Regions from separate parts of the Homo sapiens genome. Here regions 1, 3, 4, 5 and 6 are each linked to region 2. Evidence: promoter capture Hi-C in 16 types of primary human blood cells and fetal thymus (Javierre and others, 2016). All regions are on one chromosome and are shown on one strand. Each heading gives the region's core, a stretch centred on a gene start or on the middle of the fragment in contact. The rest is flanking DNA. Distances are from core to core; before and after follow the strand shown. Region 1 overlaps LOC105375448 (a long non-coding RNA gene). Region 2 holds the start of LRRN3 (leucine rich repeat neuronal 3). Region 3 overlaps LOC105375448 (a long non-coding RNA gene). Region 4 overlaps LOC105375448 (a long non-coding RNA gene). Region 5 holds the start of PNPLA8 (patatin like domain 8, phospholipase A2). Region 6 has its middle 7.6 kb from the start of DNAJB9.

Region 1 (3,353 bases), core at 555-3,054, 2.5 Mb before region 2:
TCTGGAGTGGCTTATAATCATTCAGACACAGGGACACAGAATTAAATCTGCCTGTGTGCAGAGGAAGAGGGAGAGAGGGCAAGAATGAGTGAAACAGATGGAAACCCTAAGACCACTGGAGTCAAATACACAAAAGCAGTTATGCTGATGATGTTCTGGTGTCAACTCTCATCCCTCTTCCTTCATTAGGTGCTTAGAGCACCTAACAGGGAGTAAGAAATGGGGGAAAAACTTGCCCTATCTGCAGGTACAGGATTGGTTCCTTGGCGTTGAACCAAAGAATGAAGTTTTGCTTCATTTGTTTCAGGTTATCGGGGCCAGGTGACTTTCGCTTTGAATTATGCATTTTTCCTTCCCTGACAAATGAAGCCTCCTGCCAATGCCTTCAAATCAGGAAAGGCTCCTGCTTCTCGCATTCAGCAGCAGGCATTTCACAATTTAAAATGATGGGTCCAGAATTGCAGTGAAAGTGGCAATATTTCATAGTGATTTTCTCCCTTCCTTCTCACTCCTACCCCCATGTTCAGTGTTGTCTAAGCAAATTCTGGCAGTGTCTTTTGTATCTGCATGATGCTTAAGTAAGCAAAAGACGGGGGAAAGCAAATGTCTTCCAAATCTTCATTTATCATAAACACAAATTGTAGCTTCAGCTCTTTTGCTTGATGCAAATAAGCTGACAGATGTGTATCATTGGCAGCAAATCTTATAACTGACATGGCCCCAACTGCCGCTAAACATATGTCTATATTTTTGCTGGGAAGGGATAAGATTGGGAAGGAAAATTAATTGGTGTTAATGCTCCCTGACCTCTTGGCTCCACTTCCTCCTTCTCTGCTTCATTCCTTCCACGCACCTTTTCAGAGCTCCAGTCCCCAGAGGGCTAATGGCTTGGCTGTTCCCAGGGTTCAGGGTACCCCTCCTCAGTTTACCTGAATTTCAGGCTATTCATTCTTCCTCTCCTTCATGCATTTCCTTCTCAACTCCCCCAACCACCAACTGCCACCAGTTACTCATCTTTTTCAGTTATTCTCTGGCCTTTGTAGGTAAATGATTGATAATGATTTCTGAGAGTCTGCTAATTCACAAGTATTAATAGAAAATAATAAAATCGAGCATTGTTCTTCAAACATTCCCACTGCAATCCTCTAATGATAGAAAAAAGTGAATGAGTATCTCTAACGGGGCTCAGAGAGGTAGGATGGAAGGTGTATTAGTCAGTTCTCATGCTGCTTATAAAGAAATACCCGAGACTGGGTGATTTATAAAGAAAAGAGATTTAATTGACTCACAGTTCTGCATGGCTTGGGAGGTCTTAGGAAACTTACAATAACGGCGGAAGGCACCTCTTCACAGGGTGGCAGGAGAGAGAATGGGTGCAAGCAGGGGAAATGCCAGAAGCTTATAAAACCATCAGGTCTCGTGAGACTCACTTAATATCACAAGAACAGCAAAGGGGAAACTGCCGCCATGATCCAATTACCTCCACCTGGTCCTGTCCTTGACATGTGAGGATTATGGGTATTATAATTCAAGATGAGATTTTGGGTGGGGACACAGCCAACATCTGACACAGCCATATCAGGAGGTAAGAGAGTAAGTCTGGGGGAAAGAAGCCTTGGGAGAAGGAAGTCTTGAGGGAAAGTTCTTAAAATCTGTTTTAAATTGCCTACCCTTTAAATTACTTGGCCTCACCCTTCTAAAATTTCTAGCAAAATTCACGTTGTAGAAAGACATGCCTTATTCATCCTGTGCTTTTTCAACACACCTGGAACACTGCTGTGTACTTCTGAAGGTGGGCAGAGGTAAACCTTTAATTCAAACAAATAAATCTCCATTTATTATTGATCTTAGCCTTTAACAACTTTTATTAGTATGTTTATATCACAAAGGTAATATTTGCTTTTTTTCTTCAAATAACACCAAAGAGTGCCAAGAAAAATGTTCTGTCTTCTTAATCCCATTCTTTCAGAGATAATCACTAATAATAATTAGCTAGTTATTCTCTCAGACTTTGAAAAATGCATATCATTATATGGTCTATAATTTATTCTAAAATACTTAAGTATCTGTATTTCAGCTTTAATCAATACCTTAGGGCTGATTAGTTAACCTTTGACATGCCCTAGTCAAGGCAAATACTCCAGAGATGATTAGTTACCAATAAAAAACTAATTAGAAGGCCACACTCTAGAAGAACCTAGAACACACTGCAAGCTTTCCAGTTATTTTTAAAATTTATTTAGTATAATGGATATTAGAGATATTTTTTCCTTAGTAAAATTACTAGAGATTAAGATGTGTGAATTGGCTAGAAATATTATATAGGTACTCCTGTCCTTGGTGAATAGGGAACAAGAGTCTAGTTAAGTCCAATTCTATACACTTTGCATGGCATGTTAGGTCTAAGAGTCCATTCTGTCCTCTGTGCATTTAAAAGGGAGAATTTTATCATTTACTTCCAACTAGGTTTACTGAGTACTGTAGGTAGACTATTGTCACATCTGCCTCTGATAAACCTTTAATACAAGGTCAGTTGGAGTGTCTAAAGGAACAGAGAACTGGCACTTGGTCTTACAAGGGGAGATGGTGACTATGTTTGTGCCTGCCTGCTAATAAAATTTTTGTTCCCTCAGCAAAAGTCCATCTGAGACCTGCTTTCATTGCACTGCCTCGTGAGGAGCTGTAGGAGAAGATATCATAACTATTCCCCACTTCTAATTGTTAGAAGCAACAGCTGTCTATCAAGAACAATCTGAGGATTGTGCACAAATTGATTTGGGTCAGTTTCAAACATATGTATAGTAAGATGAATAAATAATAAACAGACATGAAAATATATACTCCTTTAAAAAACAACAAAAATGGGATTATACAATATATACGGTCTGCTCAAAATCTGTTGTGGGGTAAATCTCTAATTCTGGGAATTTTGGGTACCTGCAGGATACTGGTGGAAGTGATTTTTGGGTAAGATGGACTTTTATAAAATTTCAAATTTCTATCATCCAAGTGAATGTTTGTTCTGCTGATGGGTTGAATCATCTCTTCACAGTTGGCCAGGCATTTAATTTTTTTTTTTTTTTTTGAGATGGCGTCTTACTCGGTTGCCCAGGCTGGAGTGCAGTGGCACAAACTCGGTTCACTGCAACCTCCACCTCCTGGGTTTAGGTGATTCCCCTGCCTCAGCCTCCCGAGTAGCTGGGATTACAGGCACAATAACCACACCCAGCTAATTTTTGTAGTTTTAGTACAGACAGCGTTTCACCATGTTGGCCAGGCTGATCTCAAACTCCTGACCTCCAGTGATCTGCCTGACTTGGCCTCCCAAAGTGTTGGGATTACAGGCGTGAGCC
Region 2 (3,100 bases), core at 536-3,035:
TCAATTATACAGTCAATACCAATCAATGAAAATTAATCACTTAAGATACCATGGCATAAATAAAAATTCTCTTTTTACAAATAATTATCACAATTTTAAGATTATTCTTCCATATGTGGAAATAAATCCTGCAGATACTGAAATAATTTGGAATATTAAAGAAACTAAGATTTGCTAGATTAAAATTAAGGGGTAAGAAGGATGATTATTACTATTATTAAAAGTACATTAAATTATATGTAAATATACTCTAACACAACATCCCAACACTCAACCATGATCCCTAACATACAGAACTGACTCAGTGCTTTCTGAGTAAATACTAGAGTATCCAGTAAATAATAAAACCTTACAATAATATTCTGAAATAAGTATTAGGTTAAATGAGATGCTACTTTTATCTTGAACTTATTTTGATTCATTTGAATAAATTCTTATAGAAAAAAACATTTGGGAACTGTTTCTAGAAAACTACAGAGTGAAAATATTCAGTATTTAAAGACAAGCCTACTGTTTAAAATTTTTCCTGGTATTATTATTATTATAATAACTGCAAACTATTGTTCTATGTCATGTCAATAAGCACTTAAGGAGCAATTAGATGTGAAGGTTTTGTTTTTTTTTTCCTAAGTAAATCTAATAAGTGCCATTTCTCTTTACTCCACTAGAGGGTAGTCTCTCAAAACTGGGGTTGGAGTCATGACTAGCCTGCTTTTGACCTGTTGATATATTAATCCTCATGTTCCATTCTCCTCAACAAGATGTTTCTCTAGTATACTAATTAAGGTTGTAAAACATGCATTTTTAAAACTGCTTTTTGATTTTTCATGTATGTTCTTTCAGAAATATGCACTGCTATGTGTTTCTGTGTTTTCCAAATTTCTGGTAATTAATAAAAATGTTTTACATGTATGGCTTATATAGTATATTTTCCTGGGAAATATCCTTTCAGAGTTAATAGGCCTAAGAATAAAGATAGTCTTTTAAATAATTTAACTTATTACAATCGAAATATTTCCCCAGAGTGGTAAAAAATACATCCTAAATACACACACACACTCACAGATACACAAACACACCTACACATGTACCCATTCATATGTAGCTCCTAGATTTATTACATCATATAAAGAGAAGTCAGTGAGTATAATTAGAAATACATATTTTTAAAAAGTACCCCCTCAAATGCCAATGTTGTGAATTACAGAGAGGCAAATATATGCTTTATTTTAAAAATCTGGTCAATCCAGACAAGAAATGTCATTGCTAAAAAAAAAAAAAAAAAAGTGTTATTGAACACCAAGCACATATGCTAAATTAAGTAGGATCTATAGAGAACCAAATGCCACTCAAAACAGTTGCAAGCTTCTCTTCTTAAATAATGCAGTCATTGCTGAACTTCAGAGACGGAGTTGGAGGTTTGAGTCTCTACCAGGTGTTTTTAATATTTAGGAAATCCTTATCAGTAGTGTGTCCTCTCTATTTGCAGACTGAAAACATATTTCTCTGAATGACTGATAACCTAAAATTGAGAAAACTTGTCAAAAATTCCCAACATTCCCTCAGAAAGGAAAAAAAAGAAGGAAAATGATACCTAGGAAAACATGCAAGCCTGTTTCATTTATTTGTATCCTAAGCAGCAGTGTCATAGAACAGACAGTTTGTTTCAGCCAACCAGACTGGAGCAGCTGCGAGTGCTACATCTTGGCTGTCTGAAGCGATTGGCTCCTCTCTGGGGAGTGGAGGGTGTTCAGTTATTAATGACCGCTGAGCAGGCAGCACCATGTCAGTGTGACAACTGATCGGGTGAACGATGCACCACTAACCACCATGGAAACAAGGAAAAATAAAGCCAGCTCACAGGATCTCTCTTCACTGGATTGAGAGCCTCAGCCTGCCGACTGAGAAAAAGAGTTCCAGGAAAAAGAAGGAATCCCGGCTGCAGCCTCCTGCCTTCCTTTATATTTTAAAATAGAGAGATAAGATTGCGTGCATGTGTGCATATCTATAGTATATATTTTGTACACTTTGTTACACAGACACACAAATGCACCTATTTATACCGGGCAAGAACACAACCATGTGATTATCTCAACCAAGGAACTGAGGAATCCAGCACGCAAGGACATCGGAGGTGGGCTAGCACTGAAACTGCTTTTCAAGGTAAGTTTAAAATACACATATATTTTAAAATACGTTCTATTTCTTGTCTCTTCGATGATCATGTTTTTACACCTAAATCCTCCTTTGATGTCTTCTTCTTGTCTGAATTCTAAGAGCATTTTTCTTTTATTGCACTTTTGAGAAGAAATTCACATGCAAAACCCAGCTGGCTCTGTGTGTGCCTAGCTGTGTTTGTGAGATTCTCCAACATGCATTTTACTAGCTTGAATGCCCATTAGAGGATGTGAGTGGGAGAGAAAAAGCAGTGTTGGGGGGAGGAGAAAAAGGAGGGAGACAGAAGAGAAGGGAACAGTGGGGGAGAAGAGAGGAGGAGAGGGAGAGAGAAGGAGATGGGGAAGAGAGAAGACAGAGAGGAGACAGAGAGGAGAGGAGAGTCACGGGTGATGGGGTGCAATTTTCCTTTTTCTTCACATTATTTGTAGTGAAAAGCAGATCACACATTATTCTCTGTTTTGAAATCAACCCACCAAATGGGGCATTTTTATTTTGTCTCATCCAGTGGATGCAAATTAAGGCAAATGCTGTTGTATGTTAAGAGCTAAACCACTAAGCAGAGTAGCAGAATGAGCATATCACAAACAGTTATTGAATTTCTGCCAGGCTACATCTTACGGACTGGGGTAAATGACTTCCCTTTAATAACATCCCCTCGCTGGTCTGAAGGGACAGTGCAAATGTCTGATTGCTAATGCAGCTGGAACTGCCACACACTAGGTGAAAGGATCCCATGAACCAGAAGAGTTCTAATCTTTGGTAATTAACAGGATCACAGCAGGATGGCTTTAAAGTACATTTCCTATTTAAGAAAATTGTTTGTTCTAACCAACTGCTATATTCCCTTTGCTGTTGTTGAGCTGGATGGCTTAATTCGGCTCTAATTTATTCATTTTTAACAATATGTCCTTGTTTCTCTGCC
Region 3 (3,487 bases), core at 717-3,216, 2.5 Mb before region 2:
GCAAGGCATAGCGAGTGAAAGACTTTATATGATACATGTTCTAATTATTTTACAAATCAACTCAGGCGTAACAATCTGGTATGCCCCATAGGCTCTGCCACTGATTCCCTCATTCCTAAGTATGTGTAATTTCTATAAAACAATCAGAGAAATTCCAATTTCTAAATCATCATAGTCTTCTCTCTACCTTAGGTGAAAGTGCGGAATACCCACAGGGCCATGGAAAGACACTGCATTCTTTTCTAGTACTTAAACCATAGCTTCGAGGCACTGAATAATAAGCACTATTACTTATTTAATTTTATAATGGCTGTGGGGAGAGTGTTCATGAAATGTTTTGAGCTCCTCAAATAAAATACATGATACGCTCTTTTCAGGTGAGATTTTCAAATAGATTACAAAATAATTTTTTTTCTAAAAGCGTGGAGAGAAAAAGATAAAAAAAAAGTGAGGAGAAATGAAAGAATTTTATTTGACTTGCAGAATTTGCATTTGAATTATCTATACTTACTAAGATGGCTATGTCTAGTTGTACCTGTCTGATGGTAGCTTATAACTGTAAATGCTTAAAGATAAACAGATCATAGGTTCTGGATGAGGCCGAGCACAGGCTCTAAAAGTCGCATCACACAGCCACCTGCTCATCCTGGCTTTGGGCTCTGCCCCTTGAATGTTTGCCCATCTGACTCCATTTGTACCTCCCTCACTGCTTCCCTGATTCATTTCAGTTTCATTCTCATTTTGGCTATTTCCTCACTTCTAGTTGGTGCTTTCTAGAGTTTCTGGCAAAAGCATGGACTCTGAAGTCAGGTTGCCTGGGTTTAATTCCTGTTCTATTGCTTGCTCTCTGAGTCTCAGTTTCCTTCTCCCTAAAGGAGGGATAGAACCCATCTCAGAAGGTTCTTGTCAATATTCACTGAGATAAGCACAATTTCTGATAAATGTTCATGCTTATTACATGCCAGTTGTTATTATTATTATTATTATTTTTTAGGGTGTTTTTGCTTTTAGCTCAACCTTACGTTACTGTGGCTGTGTGAGCTGGTGTTGCTGTCTTCTGCTTAATTCTGTGGCACAATGTCCTGTCCTAGCTTTCTTCAATCTGAGTGTACCCTCTGCTTCTCTCCCTCAGTTCCACCCCTGGAAGCAGAAGGTTCCCGGGGGTTAGGAGAGCTGCTTCAGTATCATTGCTCTTCAATCTCAGACAATAGCAAACACCCTTCAGATCTTACCAGGTAAGAGATCAGGTTACCAGTGGAACTGACCTGTTGGTTTTGTCATCTGAATAAACACTATAGATCACCTCCTGAATGATTTGGCTTTAGAAATCCATATTCATCATTGGTGGGACTCGCTTGGCTACTACTACTCTATTCATCACTCATTGATTAATTGAAGGTATGCCTGCAGAATTCATGCCATGGACAATGATTCTAATGCCAGCAATGTGGATATTCAAGTTCTTTTGTTTCCAGTCATGTTTTAGGGTGACCGTGACTTGTTTTAATTGTGTATGCCGTCTTTTAGGGAACTCTCATTCAGTCGTTAGCTTGAAATATTTACTGTCACCCAAAAGCCAAGGATTTTTGTTGTCCTGTAGGTTAGAGGTTAGCCTTCTGGGGCCTGAAAGAGGAAAGCAACAAAAACTCAGAGAATTTATTTCCTGCTCATACACAGGAGCTGGGTGGAGAATTTCCTCCCTTGTAAGATCTTGTAGAACACATTTTGGTTTTCTGAAGAATTGGCAAAGAAAAAAGTAGAGTTAAATAATCAAGGAAATAGCACACTATGAACAAAAAAGCTTTAAAGGGTTTTTTACCTATGGAATTAGCCATAGAAAAGCAGCTCTGTTTTTAGAGATGAATCAGTCTTAGCCTATCCTTTAATAACAAATCAGTGAAGCATCTACACCTCCATTTATTTTGAATACCTGTGCTACATCACTGTAACCAATGGTATGTTCTTTTGTCCCACAAATGAGCTGAAGACAGGGCCTTACTTTAATATGGAATATACTGATTTTGTTGGGTTCTATTACCTTCTCACGCTGCTAAAAAGTCTTTTCATGTTCAAATTCCACTGTGTTTTCAATGTCAGTTTTTTTTCTTACAAAAGGAAAAGGGTCCCCTGTGGAAGCTTATGAAAGCTGACACATTTTCTTGTGAAATATCCTTCTGAGACCATATGGTTTATCAGTAAGCACATATTTTTAGACCTTTTAAAATGAGTATTATGAAATTAACATGAGATGTTTTTAGAAAAGTGAATGCTATTGACTCAGTAGGGCAGGATGCCTGTCTGCTTTGTGGTTGTTACTCTTTATAATTCCCTGTGAAAGACGTTTTCAGATAATTAAAAAAGGTATTTGGTCTATGGAGCAAAAAAACTTATCAAAAGAGGTTATATAACACATGCATGGCAGCTACTTGTCAAAGTTAAATATACCCATTTCTTTCCCCACAAAGCCGTTAGATCTATTACCACCTAATTGCTTGGAAAATTCATTTTCTTTTTCTCAAATCACAGCCTTAATTGAGGTCTGAAAGCTCACCAAGGGCCTTTTAAATCAGCAAACCTAACTTAAAAAAAATTCTCCTATAATTTAACTTTGTGGCCAGGGACATATTTTTTTTCTTTGAGACAGTTACGGCAGTCAGTACTAGTAGAAAAACCTCTTGCTTTGAGAAATCAGAGAACTGGGGAGCGTGTCTTACTGTTTCTGGTAATGCACACTGGGGCCAAGAGTTCACAGCAAAGTGAATAGATATTAATTGCAAACATATTATTTAATCATGCTGAAACCAAAATATTTTAAACCAACTTATGTGGGTGTTTTATTGTAAATGTTAGGATGGGAAACACAATCTATTCTGCATTCTGGCTATGGAAATCTGCCCTCCACGTGGCCATCTGCAGGAGTACCATATGTGTAACACACACAACTTTATTCCTTCTTACACCAACCCTAAAGTTTGCACAACAAGAAAAAATTTTCAACTTTGGTTTATGACATATCAGGGTGCTTTCAAGCATAAACAGTGATTAGAATATCTAAATTGATGTTTGAAATCAGGATTAATTTTAATTATATAAGAGAAATGAAAATAAATGTGATTAAAAAAATAAACATAGATGCAACCATTCAGGTCAGGGTTGCTATTTCAAGGAGTCACCTTGAGAAGCTATGAACTAATTTGAAATACTCTACCATTTCTCAAAATGTTTTTGAAACTCCTCATTTGGAATTGCCTCAGAGTTAGTTTTTCATCTGCGTCTCCTTATCACTTTAGAATTACATTTTTGTTACAGATGGTGTTGCCTTGCTGGGGCACTTTATTCACCAAGCTTCACTTGGAGTGAATTTTTGTGTTTAGAAACTTACAGGATATGGTGCAAGCAAGTCCAAATATTTTGTGCAACATCACCCTCTCTGGATTGGCTATGTGCCTCTTCTCCTACCCCAGGATAACTTAGATTTAAAATTGGG
Region 4 (3,114 bases), core at 146-2,645, 2.5 Mb before region 2:
GAAGAGAGATCAGATCTCCCTCTCTCTCTCTCTCTCTCTCTCTATCCACACATGCACAAAAGAATGACCATGTGAGGATACAGCAATAAGGCAGTGTCTATAAGCCAGGAAGAGAAGCCTCAACAGAAACCAACCCCAAAGCATCTTGATCTTGGACTTCTCCTAGCCTTCACAACTGTGAGAAAATAAATTTCTGTTGTTTAAGCCACCCAGTCCGTGGTATTTTGTTATGGCAGCACTAACAGACTAATACACTACCCCCTAAATCTTTGTAAAGGAACAAAGGAAAGAAGAAAGACAGGAAGGAGAAGAGATTTATCTTTTCTACTTACTGTATTGTGTGGTCTTGGGCAAATCACTGAAGATGCCTCTATTTCTTTTTTTTTGAGACCAAGTCTTATTCTGTTGCCAGGCTGGAGTGCAGTGGCACAATCTTGGCTCACTGCAACCTCCACCTCCTGGGTTCAAGCGATTCTCCTGCCTCAGCCTCCCAAGTTACTGGGACTACGGGTGCATGCTACCACACCTGGCTAGTTTTTGTATTTTTAGTAGAGATGGGGTTTCACCACTTGGCCAGGATGGTCTCGATCTCTTGACCTCGTGATCCACCCTCCTCAGTCTCCCAAAGTGCTGGGATTACAGGCGTAAGCCACCGTGCCCTGCCCAGATGCCTCTATTTCTTAATGGACACAATGCAGATGAAAATAAGACCACCTTCTCAGGTTTTTAGGGAAGGGTAAATAGGAGAGTATATGTAGGCTACAAAATACTATTAAAATATTAGTTGCTCGCTTCAACAAAAGCACTCATTTGATGACTTCTTATTGTGAATTAGTGAAGACTTCTTGCTAGACTACGAGGTCCAGAAATAATCGTTCTTATTATTAACTGCAGAAGTAATTAACACATATTTAAATCTGTATTTTAGGGAATAAAAAATATGATTGTCATTTTTCTTCAACTTCCGTAGCTGTTTCTTTCCAGGCTTTTCAGAAAATAGTGACATAAGATCATCTTATATTTATATTTCAGTTGCTTTGCATGAAAATTTGTGGAACTCTCCCAGGTTTTCTGTGTTAAATGTCATCAACAATAAAGGTAATGCATGCCATTCCTTGCAATCTGGTATTGATGTCTTCCTTCTGTCCTGAATCCTTGTAAGAAATAAAAAAAAAAAAAAGATTTAAAAAATTGCCAAGAGGCACCAAGCGATCCATGAACTTTTAGGGAAGCTTTATGAAACAAGGTGTGGTGAATTTCAGTTATACAGGATGATTAAGTTGTAGAGATCTGCTGTACAACATGATACCTACAATGAACAATATTGTGCACTTCAAAATATGCTAAGACAATGGATCTTATGTTAAATTTTACCAACACACACACACACACACACACACACACCTGCACACAAAAGAACACAATATCATTTTGGAGGTGACATATATGTTTAGTACCTTGATTGTGTGATGACATCACAGGTATATGTGTATGTCCAAACTAATTAAATTGTATACAATAAATATGTGCAATTTTTGTATATCAATTGCATCTCAACAAAGCTTAAACAACAGCAAACCAAAATGTGTTCTGTTGGAATCAGTTTGCACTGGCTTGTGAGAGCCAATTGTTACATTTTTATGAATTTTATGAGCCTAATATTAAGCACAACTATTATTAAAAGCTAAATGATATAAACTTACAATTAAAAAATTAAATTTAAAACACAGGTTATTACTCAGAACATATCATTTTCTAATTACTGCACTCCATTTCATGATTATTAGTAATCTTGGAGTTGTTTACATTTGCTATGTCTGCCCAAAGGGAATAAACCTAATGGTGGGAGGCTGCATAGCTCCTTCCAAATGGGTGTGCAGTGATGTTACCTTAGTAGCTTGAAACAGGATGGAAACTGGCAAACACTACAAACCTGAGCTTTCCTGTTCTCTCCACTGGAGACCTGTGGTTAAACATTTACCCACAGATGACGGGGTCAACAAGCAGAAGTGGCTGCAAGTGGCCCTTCAAGGTGCTGTCAGGGTTGGTTTCTCATTCAGGATGGCCTGGAAAACAAACCAGCCACGTCCTGGAAGAACCCTTTTCCCAGTGTGGGGTGGGAGTGAGGCTGTACCAAACATAACTTTCCATGGGACCAGGTACTTCTCTCCAGCAGGTGGATGGCAACATCTCATGTGCTCCAAAGTCTCCAGAAGCTGGGCAGTTGGTGTTTCCAGACAAACACTGTAAGGGCTGGCTCCCCAAAACAGAGTACCTGGGGCAAGCCGCCTGTGTACTTCCCAGTGACAAGGCTATTTTCTCAGTTGGCTCAATAAAGAAGACAGAATAACATGTTGCAAGGCCCATGGGAATGCAAATCCCAGCTGTGGGCCCAGCAGGGCCATGGCCTAAGTATGCATCCTTCTGATGTAAGGGCAGAAACGGTGGGACCCAGGACTTTCCTTTCCTTCTTGCTTCTCCTGCTTTCTCTTTTCCTTAACAAATACAAGAGCCATACCATGTAATACTGTGCTATGTGCCCTGAATTGTGGTATAGGTGAGATGAGACACAAGACCAGCAACAGAAAGAAAAAAAAAACAAAAACAAACGCTTACAAATCTGAAAGCTATGTTAACAAGACCTAGCCATCCACATAGCATCTATTTCATTTTTTGTATCGCATCCTGAGAATTTCTTGCTTATGACATTCAAAAATTTGTTTTTACCTCATATTATTATTAAAAGATGGTTTGCAAAAATACATACATTACATCATGTTGGAATAAATTAAAAATAATTGGGGAATTTGGACAAAGGGAATATGTATAATAGAAGTAGAGGAATTCCAGAATATACAGATGCTAATTATGATATCATAGATCCTTGCAAGAGGTAGACAACAAGTTTTCTCTAGCAGCCATCATGAAGAAGAAAACACAACCATTATATTCACAGGGCCCTTAAGGCACCCACAAACAGACTGTTTAGGAAAAGTACAACTATTTCTGATTCTGCGACAATAGGACCATTTTTGATGTAGTGATTGACGTCCTCAATGACATCCTACAGTTAATATAACATTTAATTTCATTGTGCTGTTTAGTATAATGGCT
Region 5 (3,503 bases), core at 384-2,883, 2.6 Mb before region 2:
CATTTGCGAATATGAGAAAACTGTGAAGGGGACAATTTAATAGGAGAGAAAAACACATTTTCTTTTGGATTCACAGGATGAAGTAACAGTGGGACATTCAAATGGAAATGTACACAGACTGTGGATTTACTTGTGGAATTACCAGCATAGTGGCAGCAGAAACCACAACATTAGACGTATTTACCAGATGATAGTTTACAGTAATAATACATGACTATTTTGGGATCAGGCAACCTGAGTAAAGCTTTTCTTCCTTGAAAAATGTGTATTTGCAATACAAACTATATTTTCCATAATATTTCAGGATATTCACATGCCCACTGAAGTATATTTGGGTTTCAAACACGAAACTCTGGTTTAGGGAGAGCGACAGGGGTAGAGCCTTGAGTGCCACCCAGAGCTAGGAAGAGGAAGAAAAGACTCTAAAGGAAACAAAACAGGAGAAAAGCCACCCTGAAAAAATCAGGACACTGAAAACCAAGACAGGACCAAATTTTTTCAAGTAATGGATAATGAACAGAATAAAATACTTGAGTACTGCAGAGAAAGATAAGAACTAAGAAATGACTGGCCAGGTGCGGTGGCTCAGGCCTGAAATCCCAGCACTTTGGGAGGCCGAGGCGGGCGGATCACCTGAGGCCAGGAGTTTGAGAGCAGCCTGGCCAACATGGGGAAACCCGTCTCTACTTAAAAAAATTAGCCGGGTGTGGTTGCGCACGCCTGTAAATCCCAGCTACTCGGGAGGCTGAAGCAAGAGAATCGTTTGAACCTTGCAGTGAGTCGAGATCGCACCAAGGCACTCCAGCCTGGGCGACAGAGAGAGACTCCCAACAACAACAAAAAATGGCAGGACAGGAAGGTGTCTATGGCTCAGCATTCTAACTCTGACCTTTTTACAAATATATATTCCATGAGTGAAGCAATATGCAGCTTCAGCACAACCCCTCTAACTGGGGTAAAAAAAAACAACTCAAAGTACAGGCTGTTCTTGTAACAACTTTGCATGTGAAACAAGTGAATAGCTAAACTAGTGAAACTGGCCCTTTCATTCAACATCACTCATTAAAAGGGCGTTTACAAGATTTTAATTTAGTCCTGATATAGAAATAAAAAAAGAGATCAACATTAAGAAAAAGTTGATTATAATTACGAAATAAAAACATGTTCTTATATTGAAAGGACAACTAATTTGCATAAGCAATTTAACAAAATAGCTAAAATGGGCTTGATACAACTGCCTCACAAGGCATAAGCTCTTAATGTTTCACTGTTTAACAGCATTTTCTTAATACACTGAAACATTTGTCATTTTTGAACTCTCAGAAATTAGGACTGCAGAACCAGGATACAACTGTTTTGGAATTGAAAACAGTATTTTAAGCAGGATTATATGATAGTCCCTTATGTCACAACTCTCCTGAGTTTTTCCTATGAGTCACCATTTTAAAGTTATCATTGTATTAGGCGTGGAAAGCAGGTTCCTTCCAGCACAATGATAGAAATGACACAGGGATAGGAAGCACTGCAACACAGTGATTCATACACCTTATCCACTTAAGCAACAGCGGTCAAGGATAGAATCAAATGTGGATGGGGTCAGAAAGAGATTACTGACAAAAAATATCAGGCAGTAGAATCACCAGGTGCACACTGACAGTCGAGAATGATGTAGACTAGGGAAACCCTCCTGAGAGTGACCAGTTAACTACTGGAGAACACTACAGTCCAGGGGAAGGCAGACAGACTCTGGAAAATTGAGGAGGGAGTCGTGGGGATGGGACAGGGGGAGCAGGGCGGGACCTGCGAAACCAAATACGGTTTGCGCTTCTGGGGCAGCAAAGCCCACGGGGGCGGAGGGCGCCGAGTACCAATGAGCTCCAGGACCTGCGGGCTCCTTCCAGCGCCAGCTCCTCCCCAAAGCCTGGCGTGTCCCCACCCTCTCGCTCGGGAAGTGCCCTCCAAAGAAAGAAAGGACGACCCGGAGCGCCGGACAAGGGTCCAGAACGATCAACCAGCCTCCTATCGTCCCGCCCCTGTCCCCTCGCGGCTACTTACCGGGATGCAGGCCGCAGTCACTAGGGCTGCAGCGGCGACTCGCTCGTTCCCGGCAATGACGTCCACTCCAACCGGCCTGCATCAGCTGAGCTTCCAACACAAACACTGGCGCAGCAGCTAGGTCGCCACCCACTCAGCCCCGCCCCGCTCCGCCCCCAGCGGAAGTGACGCGCTAGAAGTTTGGGTCTACCCGCGGGCCGGGGTGAGGATTTTCCGCCTCGCTCAGGCCTCTGCCTCCTTGTCAATCTCCGTTCCTCCCCCGCCCCGAGATATGCGCAATAGAGCATGACGGAGCGCAAGGCGGGAAGCCGCGACAGACGTGTGTGCGTGCGTGCGTGCGTGCGTGATGCGCGAGGCGTGGCTTGCTGGTGGGGCGTGCTGTGCCTTGGTTGGTTGCCGGGTGTGAGAGCGGTGGGACTTCGTTTTGCCTTCCTGGGCGGGACCTCGGAGCAGTGTCCTGGTTTGCTTGTTTGCGGGCCGCTATTCCCTTTCAGCAGAGATAAGCCTCCCTCTCCGCGTCCCTGAAGCCCCTGCCTGCGCTGAGTTCCTTGGAGCTGGGGGCTGCGATACCAGTCTCTTGGAGGGTGGTGCCCGGCGCGGCCGCGCCCCTTTCTCTATATCCATTCCTGGGCATGGCCACCCAGACTAAATGTCACTCAAAAGCGAGTTGACATATATTACTGTATTGGAAGTTAGCATAAACCGCCCCACAAATGGTCCCACACGTAACACATCTTTTTAAAATTGTGGCATTTCATACGTACCACAGGGGCAAACTACAGCCCTCAGGGCAAATCCAGCCCACCGCAGGTTCTGCTGTACTAGGAGCTAAAAATGGGTTTCACATTTTTCAAAGGTTAAAAAAAAAGTTTTGCGACAGATGACAATTATATGACATTCATATTTGTGTCTGCTTTTTAAAGTTTCATTAGAACATAGCTTTGCATTCCTATACATGCTGTTAATTAAAGCTTTTATACTACAATAGCGAATTTGGGTAGTTGCAATAGCCCCTTACCCTCTTGAAGTGACCTTGCAATTACGTTGAGGTCGGGAAAACAGATCAGTTTCAACTAGTTATCAACCTCAAAATGTTATCAAGACTTATACTGTACTCTCAAGGCTTACCCACTACCCATGGGTATGTATGCTTTAGCCCCCTGTAAGGTTATTGTAAAGTCCTTAAGGAAGGGGATTCTTTGACCTGTCAAATGTAGTGGATGTTACCCTGATAGTTGTGTTGTTTTGATTTTTTTAAATCAAGGAGGGAAAGCCAGCTTGCTATGTTCTTGGGACACAGTGTCTGGATTATGTACATCATAATGCCTGGTAAACCCCAGCAGTGGATAAGCCAGACATGTTATTTAGCTACAGGAGAGTTAAAAGATGTATGCACCAATTAAGCCTTACAGGCGTGTGGAAGGAGCTTTAGTTTTTGAGACAGATTC
Region 6 (3,064 bases), core at 480-2,979, 2.5 Mb before region 2:
CATATCTCAACTTTGTTACTCAACTCCCTCGCAAACTTCTCTCCAGAGGTTGCCCTAATGTGGAGCTACCTAAATTTATTGTGCAGTTCTTTTTACTGTTACTCATTATGATACACCGTAACTGGTGAGCAGGATGGTGGGGGTGATTACATTCTTATGGAAAAAGACAAGCAATAACCATATGAATAAATTATAAACTGATAAAGTATGGAAAAAAAATGTAGCACAGGAGAGGAGAATTGTGAGGGCAGGCAGGTTGAGGATGTGTTGCAATTTTTGACAGGATTGTCAGTGTTGGCCTCATTGAGAAGGTAAATTTGAGCAGATGCTTGAAGGGAATTGTTTGTACTGAAGGTGGAAGCATATGTGGGAAGTTGTAGGAATGGCAAAGAAGTGCGCATAACTGGAGGCCAGTGAGCAAACCAGAGTAGAAGGAGATGAATTCATAGATAAGAGGGGTTGAAAGCAGCCCTACAGATCACCTAGGGCCTTGCCAACCTTTGTAAAGGATTTGATTTTGGAATGTGATATGGTGGCTGAGCTTGGAGCAGATAAATGACTTGATCTTTAAATCATTTTAAAAGGGTCACTCCACGTGCTTTGTTCAGAATAGACAGAGGGGCAATGGTGGAACAAGGAGAGAGTTTGGAGGCTATTTCAGTATTCTAGGATGAGAAATTGTTGCAGCTTGTGCATCGCACGAGGGTGGCAGCAGTGGAAGTGGTAGGAAGTGGTTGGATTCCAGATGTATTCTGCAAGTACAGCTACCAGGATTTGCTTATGGATTAGATGTAGGTGTGAAAGACAGAGGAGAAAACTATGATTCTAAGCTTCATGTTCTGAGTAACTGGAAATACAGAGTTGCCTTTAAGATGGGAGAGGCTGCAGAAAGAAATTTAGGAGGAAAAATCAGAAGTTCAGCTGAGATATATCAAATTTGAGATGATGAGTAAATGGGTGGAGATATGTCTGAAGTTTGGGAGAGAGAGTGAAGCTGGAAATATGCATTTTGGGATTGTCAAAACATGTGATACTTAAAACTTTGAGAGTAGATGAAATTACTGAGGGAATGTGTAGAGACATAAAGAGCAATTGAATAACTGAGTCCCCTGGTACTCTAAAAATGCAAAAAGAAGATGAGGAGCCTACACAGGCATCTGATAAGCAGCAGCCAGTGAGTAATGAGTTTTGTGTCTTGGAAGGAAGTGAAATAAATATATCAAGAAGTAGAAAGCGGCTGGGCATGGTGACTCACGCCTGTAAACCTAGGACTTTGGGAGGCCGAGGCAGGTGGATTGCTTGAGGTCAGGAGTTCGAGACCAGCTTGGCCAACATGATGAAACCCTGCCTCTACTAAAAATACAAAAATTAGCCAGGTGTGGTGGCAGGTGCCTGTAATCCCAGCTACTTGAGAGGCTGAGGCAGGAGAATCACCTGAATCCAGGAGGTGGAGGTTGCGATGAGTTGAGATCATGCCACTGCACTCCAGCCTGGATGACAAAGTGAGACTCTATCTCAAGAAAAAAAAAAAGAAAAGAAAGAAGTAGAAAGTGATCAACTTTGTAAAATACTGCCACTAAATCCAGTAAGACGATGATTGAGAACTAACCATTGTTGTTTTTAGCAATACTGATATCAAAAATGACCTGGATGCCAATTTCTATCAAGTTTTAGGGGTGAGCCTGATTGAAGCAGGTTTAAAACAGAATGGCAGCAAGATTAAGTGCTCTTAAATCATTTGACAAAACATTTGTGGACATAATTTTTATCGTGGACTTTTTAGTAGAGTATCAGCTATGATTCAATCCATGTAGCAATAGCTTATTCTTCAGAATGATGTTCTGCAGGAGTAAGAAGTATGCTATGAAAAAAAAAATCATGTTTAAATAGATTTGTGAAATCTGGGTTGGGATTCAAACCTTGCTAAATATGTTTCTTTTTAGGTGAGTGCTAGGGTTTGAATGGTTATGTCCTCCCCATATTCCTATAGTATTAGTAGATAGGGCCTTTGGGTAATTAGGTCAGGAGGCAGAATTCTCATGAATGGGATTAGTGCCCTTGTAAAAAGGGCCCAAGGGAGATCACTCATTTTTTTCTACATGTGAGGTTAGAGAAGATCTATGAGGAAGAGGGCTGTCACCAGACAGTCAATCTGCTAGTGCCTTCATCTTAGACTTCTTAGCCCCTAGAACTGTGAGAAATAAAGTTCTGTTTTTTATAAGCCACGCAGTCTATGGCATCTTGTTATGCAAGTCTGAACAGACTGAGACAGTGAGCTGCTCAGAATTCTCAACATACTAATCTATGTTGTGAATCTTTGGTAGCGATACCAAATATTGTTTGCCCAATTTATTGGACCATGGAAACATTTTTACTAAGTACCCTTAACCATATCCAAGTGTGCCACAGTAAAAGTTTGGTAAATACTGGCCTAAATAAAAGTGAAAAAAAATCATATAATAAACCTTTGGAACATGTGCATGAACACATACCAAAGCAAGGATGATAGCATATATTATGTTGGTACTTGTGTTGCATTATTAAAAAAAAAGTATTTGAATTTACTATGATTGAAAAAGATTATCCTATCAGAGCCCATTATGATGGGCTTTAGCCTACATTTCATCAACAAGCTTTTCTTCTTTTGATCACTGTTGTAGCTACTTGAATAATATTGTTTCCTCAGGAGTATTTTATACCTACAATAGCCATCATCAAGCAAATTATAAGAGGACTATTATGTAAATGAAAACTCCTTTATTATTCTCCCAAGAAAATAAAAGCTAATAATTTTTGTTGTTATAGTTTTACAATAAGACAGTATTTGCAGACAGAAAAATCAAACTGTGACTATTAAGATAAATGGGAAATCATCTTATAGTCTACTAGGGTTTGGATGTTTGTCCACTCTAAACCTCATGCTGAAATTTGATCCCCAGTGTTGGAAGTGGGGCCTAATGAGAAATGTTAGGGTCATAGGGGTAGATCCCTCACAAATAGTTTAATGCCCTTTCTCAGGAGTGAGTTCTTTATTAGTTCCCACAAGAGATAGTTGTTAAAAAGA

What was found. Contacts are between HindIII fragments. The CHiCAGO score rates a contact against its expected background, and 5 or more counts as called.
Region 1: a contact is called between a fragment that was not itself captured here and the fragment with the promoter of LRRN3 in region 2, in 2 of 17 cell types (total B cells and endothelial precursors). The highest score is 6.3, in total B cells.
Region 3: a contact is called between a fragment that was not itself captured here and the fragment with the promoter of LRRN3 in region 2, in 6 of 17 cell types (total B cells, M0 macrophages, M2 macrophages and 3 more). The highest score is 14.4, in total B cells.
Region 4: a contact is called between a fragment that was not itself captured here and the fragment with the promoter of LRRN3 in region 2, in 1 of 17 cell types (naive B cells). The highest score is 8.3, in naive B cells.
Region 5: a contact is called between a fragment that was not itself captured here and the fragment with the promoter of LRRN3 in region 2, in 2 of 17 cell types (naive CD8 T cells and activated CD4 T cells). The highest score is 6.8, in naive CD8 T cells.
Region 6: a fragment that was not itself captured here is called in contact with the fragment with the promoter of LRRN3 in region 2 in 1 of 17 cell types (total B cells); the score reaches 6.0 in total B cells.

Annotation. Positions count from the first base shown.
Region 1 is chr7:108,598,800-108,602,152 of GRCh38, forward strand. It overlaps LOC105375448 (a long non-coding RNA gene), which reads left to right. Exons shown (of 4, transcript NR_187939.1): 2 at 2,634-2,779. Among named protein-coding and RNA genes, the nearest start is that of DNAJB9, 31 kb to the left of the region's middle. The HindIII fragment of the contact is 816 bases long and covers 1,397-2,212 here.
Region 2 is chr7:111,089,342-111,092,441 of GRCh38, forward strand. LRRN3 (leucine rich repeat neuronal 3) reads left to right here and starts at 1,786. Exons shown (of 3, transcript NM_001099658.2): 1 at 1,786-2,163. All of the region lies in intron 3 of IMMP2L (inner mitochondrial membrane peptidase subunit 2), which reads right to left. The HindIII fragment of the contact is 3,940 bases long and covers 1,364-3,100 here.
Region 3 is chr7:108,617,046-108,620,532 of GRCh38, forward strand. The region is part of intron 3 of LOC105375448 (a long non-coding RNA gene); the gene reads left to right. Among named protein-coding and RNA genes, the nearest start is that of DNAJB9, 49 kb to the left of the region's middle. The HindIII fragment of the contact is 335 bases long and covers 1,800-2,134 here.
Region 4 is chr7:108,635,232-108,638,345 of GRCh38, forward strand. The region is part of intron 3 of LOC105375448 (a long non-coding RNA gene); the gene reads left to right. Among named protein-coding and RNA genes, the nearest start is that of DNAJB9, 67 kb to the left of the region's middle. The HindIII fragment of the contact is 330 bases long and covers 1,231-1,560 here.
Region 5 is chr7:108,523,974-108,527,476 of GRCh38, forward strand. PNPLA8 (patatin like domain 8, phospholipase A2) reads right to left here and starts at 2,162. Exons shown (of 11, transcript NM_001256007.3): 1 at 2,056-2,162. LOC124901722 (a long non-coding RNA gene) reads left to right here and starts at 2,502. Exons shown (of 2, transcript XR_007060473.1): 1 at 2,502-3,503. RefSeq lists enhancers at 84-619, 1,299-2,259, 2,031-2,150, 2,441-2,780. The HindIII fragment of the contact is 2,782 bases long and covers 243-3,024 here.
Region 6 is chr7:108,575,934-108,578,997 of GRCh38, forward strand. No RefSeq gene overlaps it. Among named protein-coding and RNA genes, the nearest start is that of DNAJB9, 7.6 kb to the left of the region's middle. RefSeq lists an enhancer at 3,063-3,064. The HindIII fragment of the contact is 1,803 bases long and covers 829-2,631 here.